Linked DNA regions of Homo sapiens: region 2 is linked to region 1. The links are contacts of gene promoters, found by promoter capture Hi-C in blood cells and fetal thymus (Javierre and others, 2016). All regions are on one chromosome and are shown on one strand. The core of a region is centred on a gene start or on the middle of the fragment in contact, and the rest is flanking DNA. Distances in the headings are between cores, read along the strand shown. Region 1 holds the start of CDR2 (cerebellar degeneration related protein 2). Region 2 overlaps UQCRC2 (ubiquinol-cytochrome c reductase core protein 2).

Evidence for each region. The method cuts DNA at HindIII sites, captures the fragments that hold promoters and counts their contacts. A CHiCAGO score of 5 or more calls a contact.
Region 2: a contact is called between a fragment that was not itself captured here and the fragment with the promoter of CDR2 in region 1, in 1 of 17 cell types (non-activated CD4 T cells). The highest score is 5.8, in non-activated CD4 T cells.

Annotation. Positions count from the first base shown.
Region 1 is chr16:22,371,335-22,377,626 of GRCh38, reverse strand. It overlaps CDR2 (cerebellar degeneration related protein 2), which reads left to right and starts at 3,008. Exons shown (of 5, transcript NM_001802.2): 1 at 3,008-3,396. The coding sequence starts at 3,318. CDR2-DT (CDR2 divergent transcript) reads right to left here and starts at 2,740. Exons shown (of 3, transcript NR_148970.1): 1 at 2,404-2,740; 2 at 2,067-2,300. RefSeq lists enhancers at 2,236-2,285, 2,626-2,705 and a silencer at 3,246-3,475. The HindIII fragment of the contact is 4,746 bases long and covers 2,157-6,292 here.
Region 2 is chr16:21,956,574-21,962,865 of GRCh38, reverse strand. It overlaps UQCRC2 (ubiquinol-cytochrome c reductase core protein 2), which reads right to left. Exons shown (of 14, transcript NM_003366.4): 2 at 5,548-5,631; 3 at 5,300-5,449; 4 at 4,267-4,331; 5 at 350-406; 6 at 1-105. It also overlaps a transcript of PDZD9 not described here. Among named protein-coding and RNA genes, the nearest start is that of UQCRC2, 6.4 kb to the right of the region's middle. The HindIII fragment of the contact is 673 bases long and covers 2,766-3,438 here.

The sequences.
Region 1 (6,292 bases), core at 1,759-4,258:
TTTCCAAAGGGTTCTATCTTTAGTGATTAAGATAGTTTGTTTGAAGTGATCTTATTTCAACTCTGAATATCTCGATGGACAACTAGGGCAGTAGAAGAGGCTTTACAGGACCTCACTTTCTTTTCTTTCTTTCTTTTTTTTTTTTTTTTTTTGAGACAGAGTCTCACTCTATTGCCCAGGCTGGAGTACAGTGTCACGGTCTCGGATCACTGCAACCTCTGCCTCCAAGGTTCAAAGGATTCTTGTGTCTTGGCCTCCCATGTAGCTGGGATTACAGGCTTGCACCACCACTCCCGGCTAATTTTTGTATTTTTAGTAGAGATGGGCCACCTTATTGGCCAGGCTGGTCTTGAACTCCCAACCTCAGGTGATCTGCCTGCCTCAGCCTCCCAAAGAGCTGGGATTACGGCATGAGCCACTGTACACAGCCTTTTTTTTTTTTTTTTTTTTTTTTTTTTTTGAGACAGGGTCTTGCTCTGCTGTCACCTATCATAGCTCATCGTAACCTCAAACTCCTGGACTCAAGCAATTCTCTCACCTCAGCCCCCCAAGTAGCTGGGACTACAGGTGTGCCAGTAACATTTTGCCTTTTTGAAGAAAGGGATTTGTGAGTTTACCATTCCTCTTTTATTATTATTATTACTTTCTAACAGTGTTATTCCTTCTACATTTTTTGCTTGGCATCCTACTGTAAGAAAGTTTTCTTTTCTCTCCCATTTATTTATGTCAGTATGGACTCATGGATTCTTTCCTTTTTATTCAATGGGTTATAATCCATTACTATGATTATTTATTGTGATGCTCATAATTGGTCCTCAAGGGTACCTGCACTTCTACAGTATAGGTCACAAGAACACAGCCTTACATTTAAAATGAGCACAAAATACTTGCTTTCAGGGTCTCTCTGATTCAGATAGCTCTGTGAGCAAGGCAAACAATCATCTTTCCTGTAAACTGTTTGCTAAAAGGCTTCTCTGCTGGTACTGAGTATGGCGAGAACTCTAGGTTTTCTCACTCTAGGTCCCTTGTGCTTTCCACTCTATTCAGCAGTCTCCTTTAAGGACTGAAGGGTAAAACTTCAGGTAACAACTCCACAGTGGGAGGTCTTGTCCTTGGCAAGACTTCTCCAGAGTAGCCTACAGCCTATGTGTAAGGTAACCCTGGAGTCAAGTGCTGTTTGATACAGCATCAGCGTGAGGTTAGGTTATGCTGGTTTGAGCAAAGATGGGAGGCAGAGAGACACCCTGAATTTTATTACCCACAAGAATTATTCAGGATGAGTTTTTCCCCCCTTCCAAATTACCCAAGTCTTTTTTTATACAGAAAGACAAAAAAAGTAGCTTGAGTCTATAATTCCTTCCCTACAATTTCCCTTATTTTTAATGTGCAAGTAACTAAAAAAGCAAGATCACAGAAGGGTTTATAACAAAAAGCCAAAGTCCCCAGCCTCAAATCACTCCTCCTCTTAGGAAAACTTTTTTTTTTTGTTTGGTTTTTGAGACGCAGTTTTTGCCCAGGCTGGAGTGCAATGGCGCAATCTCGGCTCACTGCAACTTCCACCTCCCGGGTTTCAAGCAATTCTCCTGCCTCAGCCTTCCAAGTAGTTGGGATTACAGGCATGCGCCACCACGCCCAGCTAATTTTGTATTTTTAGTAGAGATGGGGTTTCTCCATGTTGGTCAGGCTGGCCTCGAACTCTCGACCTCAGGTGATCCGCCCGCCTCGGCCTCCCAAAATGCTGGGATTACAGGCGTGAGCCACCGTGTCCAGCCTCGGAAAACTCTTAATTGCTTCCCATTTTTAGTTCTGGCAGCTCTCTCCATATTTGTGGAAACTATTCATTGGATTATCAATGTAAGGTATTATCTGTCGACTCACTTCTAAAATAGATCAGGATTTAACACTCCTCTCCACCTCTTCCCTCTCTCTGAATTTCTAACAGTTTATTACCTCATGTTCTAGAGATAATCTTTCAATTGTATACTTAAACCTCGATTTTTTTTTGTTTCGTTGCTCAAAGTTAGTTAGATATTGGCCCTGTTGTCTTCCATCAGCTGCACCTTTACCTTTACGTCAAGGTTGAGAACATTGACCTTCAGGTCTGTCATCCTGCTTAAGAGTTTCCGTGCTTTGTCTGCAAGATGGTGCTTAAAGCTTTACCTAGGAGCAGTATTTGCTGGGTTATGTCGGTGGAGGACAGCGTGCTCTGCCTCGCTGGCTACTAAGTGCTGGAGCTGCAGCCTGTCCCCTCCAGGTGCAATGTCACGTCCCCAGATGCTTAACTTGTGGTCTAGGGGTACCTTTTAAAAATCGTTGCAACACTGCTTACAATTTTCGCCCTCCAAGTGGACAGCTTCGGGCATCCCTCACCGCCCCAGATTCTCAAGGGGGTCTGGTGCCCACCGTTTTATGTAGCGTGAGTTTAATTCCCAGGGCTCAGATGTCAAGGAGACAAGAGCTACCGCTCAGTGGGCGTTTTCTCAACCCAAACTCCCGATCGACCTCGAGTCTCCCCGCCGGACCCGGAGCAAATCTCAGAGTCAAGATGCGAGAAGGGGTGGCCGGGCGGCGGACCTCAGGCTTCCGGCACCCTTGCGCTTCCCGCCGGCACGAAGGACTCCCCTGGACAACCGCCCGCCTCTCAGAGGCCGGAGTCCTAGGCCCTCCGGCCTGCGTTGCCTGTCCACAGACGCGCCGGCCTCGGGACACCCACCACAGGGGTAAGACGCGCCTCTGCCAGCTCCCCAGCCCGAAACCCAGAACGCCCTCCTAGGAGCCTCACAGCGCAGATCAGGGGACGGGCTTTCGGCCGCACCCCTTCACTCTTTCCCCGCCTTCTTTGTTTATTCCGGACCCACCATTGGCTGCTTGCCCTCGATACCGGGCGAGCCGCCGGTCTTTGGAGAGAGGCGATTGGACGAAGTCCCTGCCGCTCGGCCAGCAGCCCGCTCGCGATTGGTTGAGGCGCCGCCGGGGGTTTGAATCGCATCCCCGGCCGGGGAGGGTTCTGCCAAAGTGCCACGTTGGGCCCGGCGGCGGCGTGAAGACTGGCGGCTGCGTGAGACTCCGGCTCCAGGCGTTCGCACCGTAATGCCCGGCCGTTGGGGCCGTCGGTAGGCGCGAGGCGAGTCGAGGCAGCCGGCCGGTCGGCGGCCGCCGGCGGGAACGGGGCTGAGGCGGCGCAGCGGAGTCTGGGCGGCGGCGCGTCCCGCCCGAGGGCGGCTCTGGCTGAGGGCGGAGGGGCCGGGGAAGAGCCCGGGGCAGCGGCTGAGGCGGGACGGCGGCGGGGGCCGCTGCCCCTAGAAGACCCAGCCGAGATGCTGGCGGAAAACCTGGTAGAGGAGTTTGAGATGAAGGAGGACGAGCCGTGGTACGACCACCAGGACCTCCAGCAAGGTGAGGGCGGGGGCGCCCCGCGGGCGGGCGGCGGCCTGGCCCGGGAGGCCCCCGCTGCGAAACTGTTAAAAAGTTGCTTTTTGTGGCGGCGGAGGATGCAGGTGCCGGGAAGGGCTCAGGCTCACCTGGCGGCTGGGCCGGCCGTGCCCGCGGATCCCGCCCGCAGGAAGCCTCGGCACGGGGCCCACGGCCTTGCTAATGCGCAGTTGAATATCAGCCCCGAGGCGCGTGGGGGCCAGGGACGAGCCAGGCACCGTTTTAAGCGCTTTCCGTGGATTAGCTAGTTTAATCCTCACTGCATTCCTCCGAGGCAGACCCGGGTGAGCCAGTGTGTCCCGCAGTAAGTGGCATAGCCCGAGAAGCCGCCCCGTCGCAGGCTGTCTAGCCCAGCGCCTTTCATGGCCAGCGTGGAGGGCCGGCTGCTGCAGGTGGTAGTTGTTTTGCGGCGTAGCGGGAGCTGTGCGCTCCGCACCGTAACTCCAGGAGACAGTAACTTTTTAAAAATTAATGTTTGAGGGTACATGGTAGGTGTATATATTTGTGGGGTACATGAGATGTTTGGATACAGGCACGCAGTGTGAAATAAGCACGTGATGGAGAACGGGGCGTCCATCCCAGCATTTATCCATTGAGGTACAAACAATCCAATTACACACTTTTGTTATCCCATTTTCCATATGAGGAAAGCGGAGATTAAAACGGTAAAGTGGCTTGCCTAAAGCTAAGTGTGGGAGGGAGTGTTTTTTGAACCCACACACTCAGAAGAAGAGTTGTAGTCACTGCTCAAACCCCATCTCTTCCTTACCATCCTAGTTTACAGTTTTTTTCAGTTGGGCGTTAAGCTGTTAGGCATAGTTCACCAGATGCCAATTGAAACGACAGAAGAAAGAGCGCATCTATCTCTGCCACTTTTCTTCAGTTTGCACGCCAGCTTTCACTTAGAAACAGGCCTGCCGATGGTGTCTCCAGAGAACAATCGTAGAGTAGCCCACTCTTTGGGGCCAGTGGGGCCCCTGTTTTTCTTATACTAATAGCAGGAGCTAGCAGTTGGGGAACACTTTTTATGTGCCTAACACTGATAGGCCCATAACACAGTTGCTCATTTAATTCTCCCAGTAACACAATAGAGGTAGTAATGTTGGGGAGTGCTAGGGTTCTCCTTAAGACTCCAGAGCAAACGTTCTTAACCGCTATACTGAGTACTGAACAATCCTCAGGAATTTTTCCAGGCATCTTCAGTTTCTGCAATTCTGTGTAAATGCTCTCAGCTCTAATCTTGCAATGAAAATTAACATCTCATTTAGTTGAATATTAAATGATCATGTTGCTTGTTCATGCTAACCACTGAACATGGCAGAAGAAAAGAATGTAGACCTGAATAACTCAGAAAAGGAAAATAAAATGAGCACCTCTTTTGGAGGAAGATAATTTCTTAAATTAACATGCAATCACTTTAACCAAAGTAATTCACCTTTATTACACTTACAGAGTCCAAGCTACTTAGTGGTTGCAGTGCAGTGTTTGGCACCATCTTCTTTATGTCCAAGAGACAAATTTATTATACATATTAACAAACCTGTTTTCAGATTTCCCCGTAAGGATTGATGGCCTAGTTTGATAGTTTCTCCAGGATTTGTGAGGCAACCACTGTACCACTGCAGTACTTCCCTATAATTTAATTTGTATCATCACAACTAAATATTTCTCTTTCCTGTATTTAAGAAGCATTAATCTTTAAGGGCATAGAGGGGGCAGGTTCTTTTTTCTTGTGTTTCCAGCATCTAGCATAATACTTGGCACATACTGGAAGCTCGATTTTAATATTTGTTGAACTGCACTGAAGCACTCGCACAGAATTGTTTTCATGGCTCTCTTCCATCAGGTGCCTTAGTCCACGCTGCATTCTCCCGCTGTGGGAGGTTGTTAGGAACAACAGCTGTAACACTTCAATCTACCGAGCAGCAAGTGCAACGTGTCAGGGTTACACGAGGAATTCTCTTTAACCTCTGATCAAAATAAAGTCATCAGCTCTTCAAGTTTAACCTTAAAAACACAGGTCTGGGCTGGGCGCAGTGACTCATGCCTGTAATCCTAGCACTTTGGGAGGCCGAGGCGGGCATATAACCTGAGGCCAGGAATTCGAGACCAGCCTGGCCAACATGGTGAAACTCCATCTCCACTAAAAATACAAAATTAGGTGGGTGTGGTGGCAGGCCCCTGTAATCCCAGCTACTCGGGAGGCTGAGGCAGGAGAATTGCTTGAAACTGGGAGGCGGAGTTGCAGTGAGCTGAGATCGTGCTATTGCACTCCAGCCTGGATGACAAGAACGAAACTCCCTCTCAAAACACACACACACACACACACACACACACACACACACATATCTGAACCTCTTTACTGCCAGTTGCATTTCTGTGTTTTTCAAAGGGCTGTTACGTTATCACAGTGGACTTTGACTTAACCCTCTGTGTCATAACCAACTATATGGAGTACGAGTAGAAGATGTGAAATTCCAACAATTGTAACTTGTGAATATGGCCTGTCAAAGAATAAAGGCTACAGTGTGAATAAAAGGGTATCCTTTCCCCAGTTTTGCTAAGTTATATGTTAACTCCTAAACTTTTAACAGATTTTAAAACTTGTTCATTTCTCAAAAATGTATTATCTGCTCTTTGCCAGGTATTCGCCTGGGCCCTGGGGCCACAGCACCTCCCCACATGAGTGGATAGGTAGGATTCCTACTCCCATAGAGTGAATGTTCCAGGAATCTGTTCACTAGAGAAGCCTGGAGGTGCCGCCTCATGGGATGTGCCCACTACAGCGCCTCGTACATTGTAGGCCCTCAGTAGACACTTGCTGCTGAATTAAGTTTGGGAGCAGGTCTGTCCTGTTAAA
Region 2 (6,292 bases), core at 1,853-4,352, 410 kb after region 1:
GCCACAGCTTTGTCAATCTTTAGCTGAGGCTGAAGGTCAGCTACTTCCCAACGACGAAATTCTGGTGCTGTGGTGACATTGAGCAGGAACTCCATTAGAATATCACTACAGAAGACATCGAGATAAGAATTATGAGTCAAAAATGTAAAGCCAACATTTGAGATTCTACATAGCTGTAATGCTCTCAATGTGAAACTTTAGGTCTTGTGGTAAGCAGTGTTTTTGAGCAGTTTATGAACAATAATCCAAAATGGAAGTCAGAGGTCATAATGACGCATTACAAAGACCAGAAGTGAGCAGCTTAGTATTTCTTTCAAAGCAGAAGTCCTAAACACACACAGGTACTTACACATCACCCCGCAGGCATTCCACAGTATAAGCCATGTTTTCCCTTGTTGCGGTCACACTGAATCGGAAAATAAACTAGAGTAAATCATCTGAATCAGGATAGTAAGCTTTCCCTTATAATCTTCTATCAACCAATTCCTTTGGAAAGAAAATTTCTGAAGTATAAAAGGTGCGAACAATAATATAACAAAACTCCACATATTAACCAACTAAAATTCAAAATTTTTTTAAAAACCAGCAAATAATTCAACCTTAAAAGGAGTGAAATCTGGTCACATGTTACAACACAGATGAACCCTGAGGACATTATGCTAAGGATAATAAGCCAGTCACAAAGGGACAAATATTGTATGATTCTACTTATGAGGTACCTGGAGTAGTCAAATTTGTAGAGACTGAAAAGAGAATGGCAGTTGCCAAAGGCTGAGGGGAGGGGAGAATGAGCAGCCATTGTTTAACAGGTACAGAATTTCAGGTGGGAGAAGATAGAAAAGTTCCGGAGCTGAATGTTGGTGATGGTTGCTGAATGCCACTTAACTGCACACTTAAGAAAATGATAAATTTGGGCCGGGCGCAGTGGCTCACACCTGTAATCCCAGCACTTTGGGAGGCCGAGGTGGGCGGATCACTTGAGGTCAGGAGTTTGAGACCAGCCTGGCCAACAGGGTGAAACCATGGTCTCTACTGAAAATACAAAAATTAGCCAAGCATGGTGGCGCACGCCTGTAATCCCAGCTACCACGGAGGCTGAGGCAGGAGAATCGCTTGAACCCAAGAGGCGGAGGTTACAGTGAGCCAAGATCATGCCACTGCACTCCAGCCTGGGCGACACAGCGAGACTGTCTAAAATATATATATATATATATATATATATATATATATATATATATAAATTTTATGTTATATACATTTGACCACAATTTTTTAAAATGGCAAATAAAGTTGAAGATCTTTTCGTACCCTTCCAAGACCAATTCCCTCACTCTCTCCCACTCTGGAAACCACAATCATAAGCACTACATAGTATTTTTCTGCTTAAAAAATTAAAATACCTTAAAGAAATCTTGAAACTTGCTTGTTCACACTCTATTTTGCCCTTCAGTTGTGCTATGTTGACGTATGGATCTAGTTCATTCCGTAATGGCTGTATAGTGGTCTCATCATGACTCTGTCATACTTTACCCATTTCCCTAAAGATGGACACTTAGATCGTTTCCAGTCTTTATAAAGAATACCTTTGTGAATGTGATTAAAAACTGTGGGGTTTTTCAATATTACCAGATATTCCTTGATTCTTTCCTAAGTGGTTGTATCAATTTATACTCCTATCAGCAGAATGAGACATTCTCTATCATCTTTACCACTGACAACACAATATATAAAAAATCTGGGCTGGGTGCAGTGGCTCACATCTGCAATCCCAGCATGCTGGGCTGAGGTGAGAGGATCACCTGAGGCCAGGAGTTCAAGACCAGTCTGGGCAACATAGTGAGACCTCCATTTGTACAAAAAATAAAAAATTAGCCAGGCATGGAGTCATGTGCCTATAGTCCTAGCTACTTGGGAAGCGGAGGGAGAAGAATCGCTTGGGCCCAGGAGTTCAAGGCTGCAATAAGGTATGTCTGCACCACTCCACTCCAGCCTGGGAAACAGAGCAAGACCCTGTCTTTAATATAAATTAATTAAAAAAAAAGAAATGCTGTTTCTGTCCTGAGTGTTCCACTGACCAGCTGCTCCCCAAGTCTTTCTCCCTCTCTTTGGATATTCCTACTCCTGAGACACAACAATATTGAAATTAAGCTAATGAATAACCCGACAATGGCCCCTAAGTATACAAGTGAAAGGAAGAGTCTCATGTCTCTCACTTTAAATCAGAAGCTAGAAAGGATTAAGCTTCTAAGGAAGTCAGGAAGGCATGTTAAAAACGGATACAGGTCAAAAGCTAGGCCTCTTGCACCAGTGCAGTTCTTGAAGAAAACTAATAGTGCTACTCCACTGAACACATAAATGATATGAAAGCAAGACAGACTTATTGCTGATAATACAGAGTTTTACTGGTCTGGATTAGATCAAACTGTATTCCCTTAAGTCAAAGCTTAATCCAGAGCAATGCCCTAACTCTCTTCAATTATATGAAGGCTGAGAGAGGTGAGATGCAGAAGAAAAGTCTGAAGCTAGCCGTGGTTAGTTCATGAGCTTTAAGGAAAGAAGCCATCTTCTTAATATAATAGTACACAGTGAAGCAGCAAATGCTAATATAGAAGCTGCAGCACGTTATCCAGAAGATCTACATAAGATCATCGATGAAGGTGGCTACACTAAACCACAGATTTTCAATGCTGACAAAACAGCCTTACATTGGAAGATGCCGTCCAGGACATTCGTAGCTAGAGAAGTCAATGCCTGGCGTCAAAGCTTCAAACGACAAGCTGACTCTTGTTGGGGACTAATGCAGCTGGTGACTTTAGGATGAGGTCATTTACCATTCTCAAAATCCTAGAGCCCTTAGGAATTATGCTAAATCTACTCTGCCTATGCTCTGTAAATGAACAAAAAAGCCTGGATGATAGTACATCTGTTTATAGCATGGTTGACTGAATATTTTAAGCCCATTGCTCAGAAAAAAGATTCCTTTCAAATTATTACTGCAACAATGCCAAGAGCTCTGATGCAGATGTACAAGGAGATTGACACTGTTTTCATGCCTGCTAATAGAACATCCCTTCTGCACCCCATGGATCAAGGAGTAATTTTTATTTTCAAGTCTTATTATTTAAGAAATACATTTTGTAAGGCTACAGCTACCACAGATAGTGAAGACGCTGATGGATCTGGGCAAAGTAAATTAAAAAACTTTCTGGAAAGAATTCACCATTCTAGACACCATTAAGAACATTTGTGACTCATGGGAGGATGTCAAAGTATCAACATTAACGTGAGTTTGGAAGAAGCCAATTCCAACCCTTATGGATGACTCTGAGAGGCAAGACTTCAGAGGGGGAAGAAACTGCAACTATGGTGGGAGTAGCAAGAGAACTAGAAGTGGGGCCTGAAGATGTGACTGAATGGCTGCAATCTTATGATAAAGCTTGAACAGATGAGGAGATGCTTCTTATGGATGAGCAAACAAAGTGGTTTCTTGAGATAGAATCTGCTCCTGGTTGAAGATGCTGTGAACACTGTCGAAATGATAAAAAAGAATATTACATAATCTTGGTTGATAAAAAAGTGGTAAGGTTTGAGATGACTGACTAATTTTGAAAGAAGTTCTGTGGGTAAACGGCTAAAAACAACATCTCATGCTACAGAGAAGTCTTTCACAAAAGGAAGAGTCAATCAATGCAGCAAACTTCACTGTTGTCTGATTTTAAGAAATTATCAGTCACCACCACCTTCAGCAACCACCACCTTGATCAGTCATCAGCCATTAACGTGGAGGCAAGACCCTCCACCAGCAAAGATTATGACTTGCTGAAGATTCAGATAACTGTTAACATTTTTAAAGCAATAAAATATTTTAAAATTAAGGTTATGTACTTTTTTTCCAAGACAAAATGTCATTGTACACTTAGTAGACCACAGTATAGTGTAAACATAACTTTTATATGCACTGGGAAACCACAAAATTCCTATGACTTGCTTTGCTGCAATATTCCCTTCATTGTGGTGGTCTGGAACAGAACCTGCAACATCTCTGAGGTATGCCTATATATTGCAGATATCTACTCCCAGACAGTTACTTAAATTTTTACTTTAAGACATAAAGATGTTTTACAGTTTGATATACTCAAATTCATCAGTCTTTTCCTTCTTATGTTGCTTAAGAAATCCTCAACCTCCTTGATAACAGAGAAAAGTTCCCTTAAAATTGAATATTTTCTGGCATTTTCACTATTTTCTATTACTTATTTAACAAACCTTAATTTGCCACCAACTGCTTCAATTCCACGGGTTATCTTGAAAGATGAAGCTCCTTTTGTCGTCTTGAAAAAGAAAGAATGATTATCTTTGTAGCTTTTCAATGCCAAGTTTGCCAAACATCACACTATATCAAAATCTGTTGTGAGCAGATTTAAAAAGAATTTTACTAAATTCCTGCATCCTTTTTAGTTAAGAATTATAAAACAAGGCTCAACAAAAAGCTTAAGTATACATTTTTACATTAAGTACATTCATGTAAAATTTCCACTGTCAAATACAAGCTTACTGGATTCATTAGTCTATTCTGAAAGAGACTTGTATATGGGAAAAAAAGAGTTAATTTTCTTTCAATTTGCGGCACTTCCTGTTAAAAATTTGTTTACTGATTTCTTATGCTCTAACATCAACATTCATATGGATACTAATTTAGTGCTTCTCTGTGGCAAATATCTTGTGGTTTCTCATTTTACATTAGGGGACAGTACTGGGTTTAACAGTGTTCCCCCCCAAATTTATGTCCAGCCAGAATATTTGCATGTTACTTTATTTGGTAATAAGGTCTCTGCAGATTTAAGTACTTAAGATGACATCATATTGAATTATAGTGGGCACTAAATCTAATGTAACTGGTATCCTTATCAGGAGGAAATGTGGACACAGACAGAAGGAAGGCCATGTGACAACAAAGGCAGAGACTGCAGTGATGCAGTTGCAGGTCAAGGAACATGAAGGGTTGTGGGCAACTGCTGGAAGCTAGGAACAGGCAGGGGAGGATTTGTGCCTTCCTAGAACCTTTAGAGGGATCACAGCCCTGCTGATATCTTGGCTTGGCTTAGACACCTTGACTTGGACTTCTAGCCTCTAGAACTGTAACAGGATAAACTTATTTGGTTTAAGCTACCCAGTCCGTGGTAATTTGTTATGGCAGGTCAAGGAATCAAAATATAAAGACATTGATCTTAGTTTTTCTTTTTCACAGGACCAAGATACCACAGCATTTCCAAACACTTGAGGAAGTGAAGATACTCACCAGACTGGATGTAAGACGCAGCAAATGGGTGGTTCCTAAATTGCTGAAGTCCTCATATCTACTGCCTGCTTTAATGAACAAACCAATTCTTGATACAGGAGAATAGTTTTCCAAAGAAGCAATCACCAAGCCATTTGGTAACTTGGTAAACTGTATTTAAAATAAAGTAGAGATATAATGAATGTCTTCGTATTACCAAGGAGAGTAAGGCATGTATAGCTTCCAGCGAGCAAGTTAGTGGGACTAACCTCAAGGTCCTGAGGTTGTGGCGGTGCTCCTGCAGGCGCAGCTGTGGCTTTAACTTTGGGGGCAACTTTGAGGGAATAAAATCTCTAAACATAAAAAACACAGGTTACACGTATTTCTCACAAGAACAGTGCTTTATATAAAAGCATGGTATCTTAGGGTACCCAAGCGACAGAGGGTGTTCGGGGGTGGAAGGAGCAATAACCACCTCCATGGGAGGATTTACCTGCATAACATTTTTTTTTTTTTTTTGAGACAGAGTGTCTCTCTGTCGCTCAGGCTGGAGTGCAGTGGCGCAATCTCAGCTCACTGCAACCTCTACCTCCTGGGTTCAAGCCATTCTCCTGCCTTAGCCTCCCAAATAGCTGGAATTACAGGTGCGTGCCACCATGTCCAGCTAGTTTTTGTTTTGTATTTTTTAGTAGAGATGGGGTTTCACTGTGTTGGCCAAGCTGGTCTTGAACTCCTGATCTTAAGTGATCTGCCCACCTTGGTCTCCCAAAGTGTTGGAATTACAGGCGTGAGCCACTGCACCCCGCCTAGCTGCATAACTTATTATGGACTTACTAACCCACCAGTTTACCCAAGCCATTCTTAAACCTCTATTTATTAGTGATTTATAGAGTTCTTGATGCTTATTTTTTAAATGATGTAAAGAATCACTGTATTTTCTTATCTTTCAGTTACCTTATAAAAGTTTCATGGTTCTGTGTAGTTCTAAAGCTTTGGCATTTTTTGAAAAAGTGT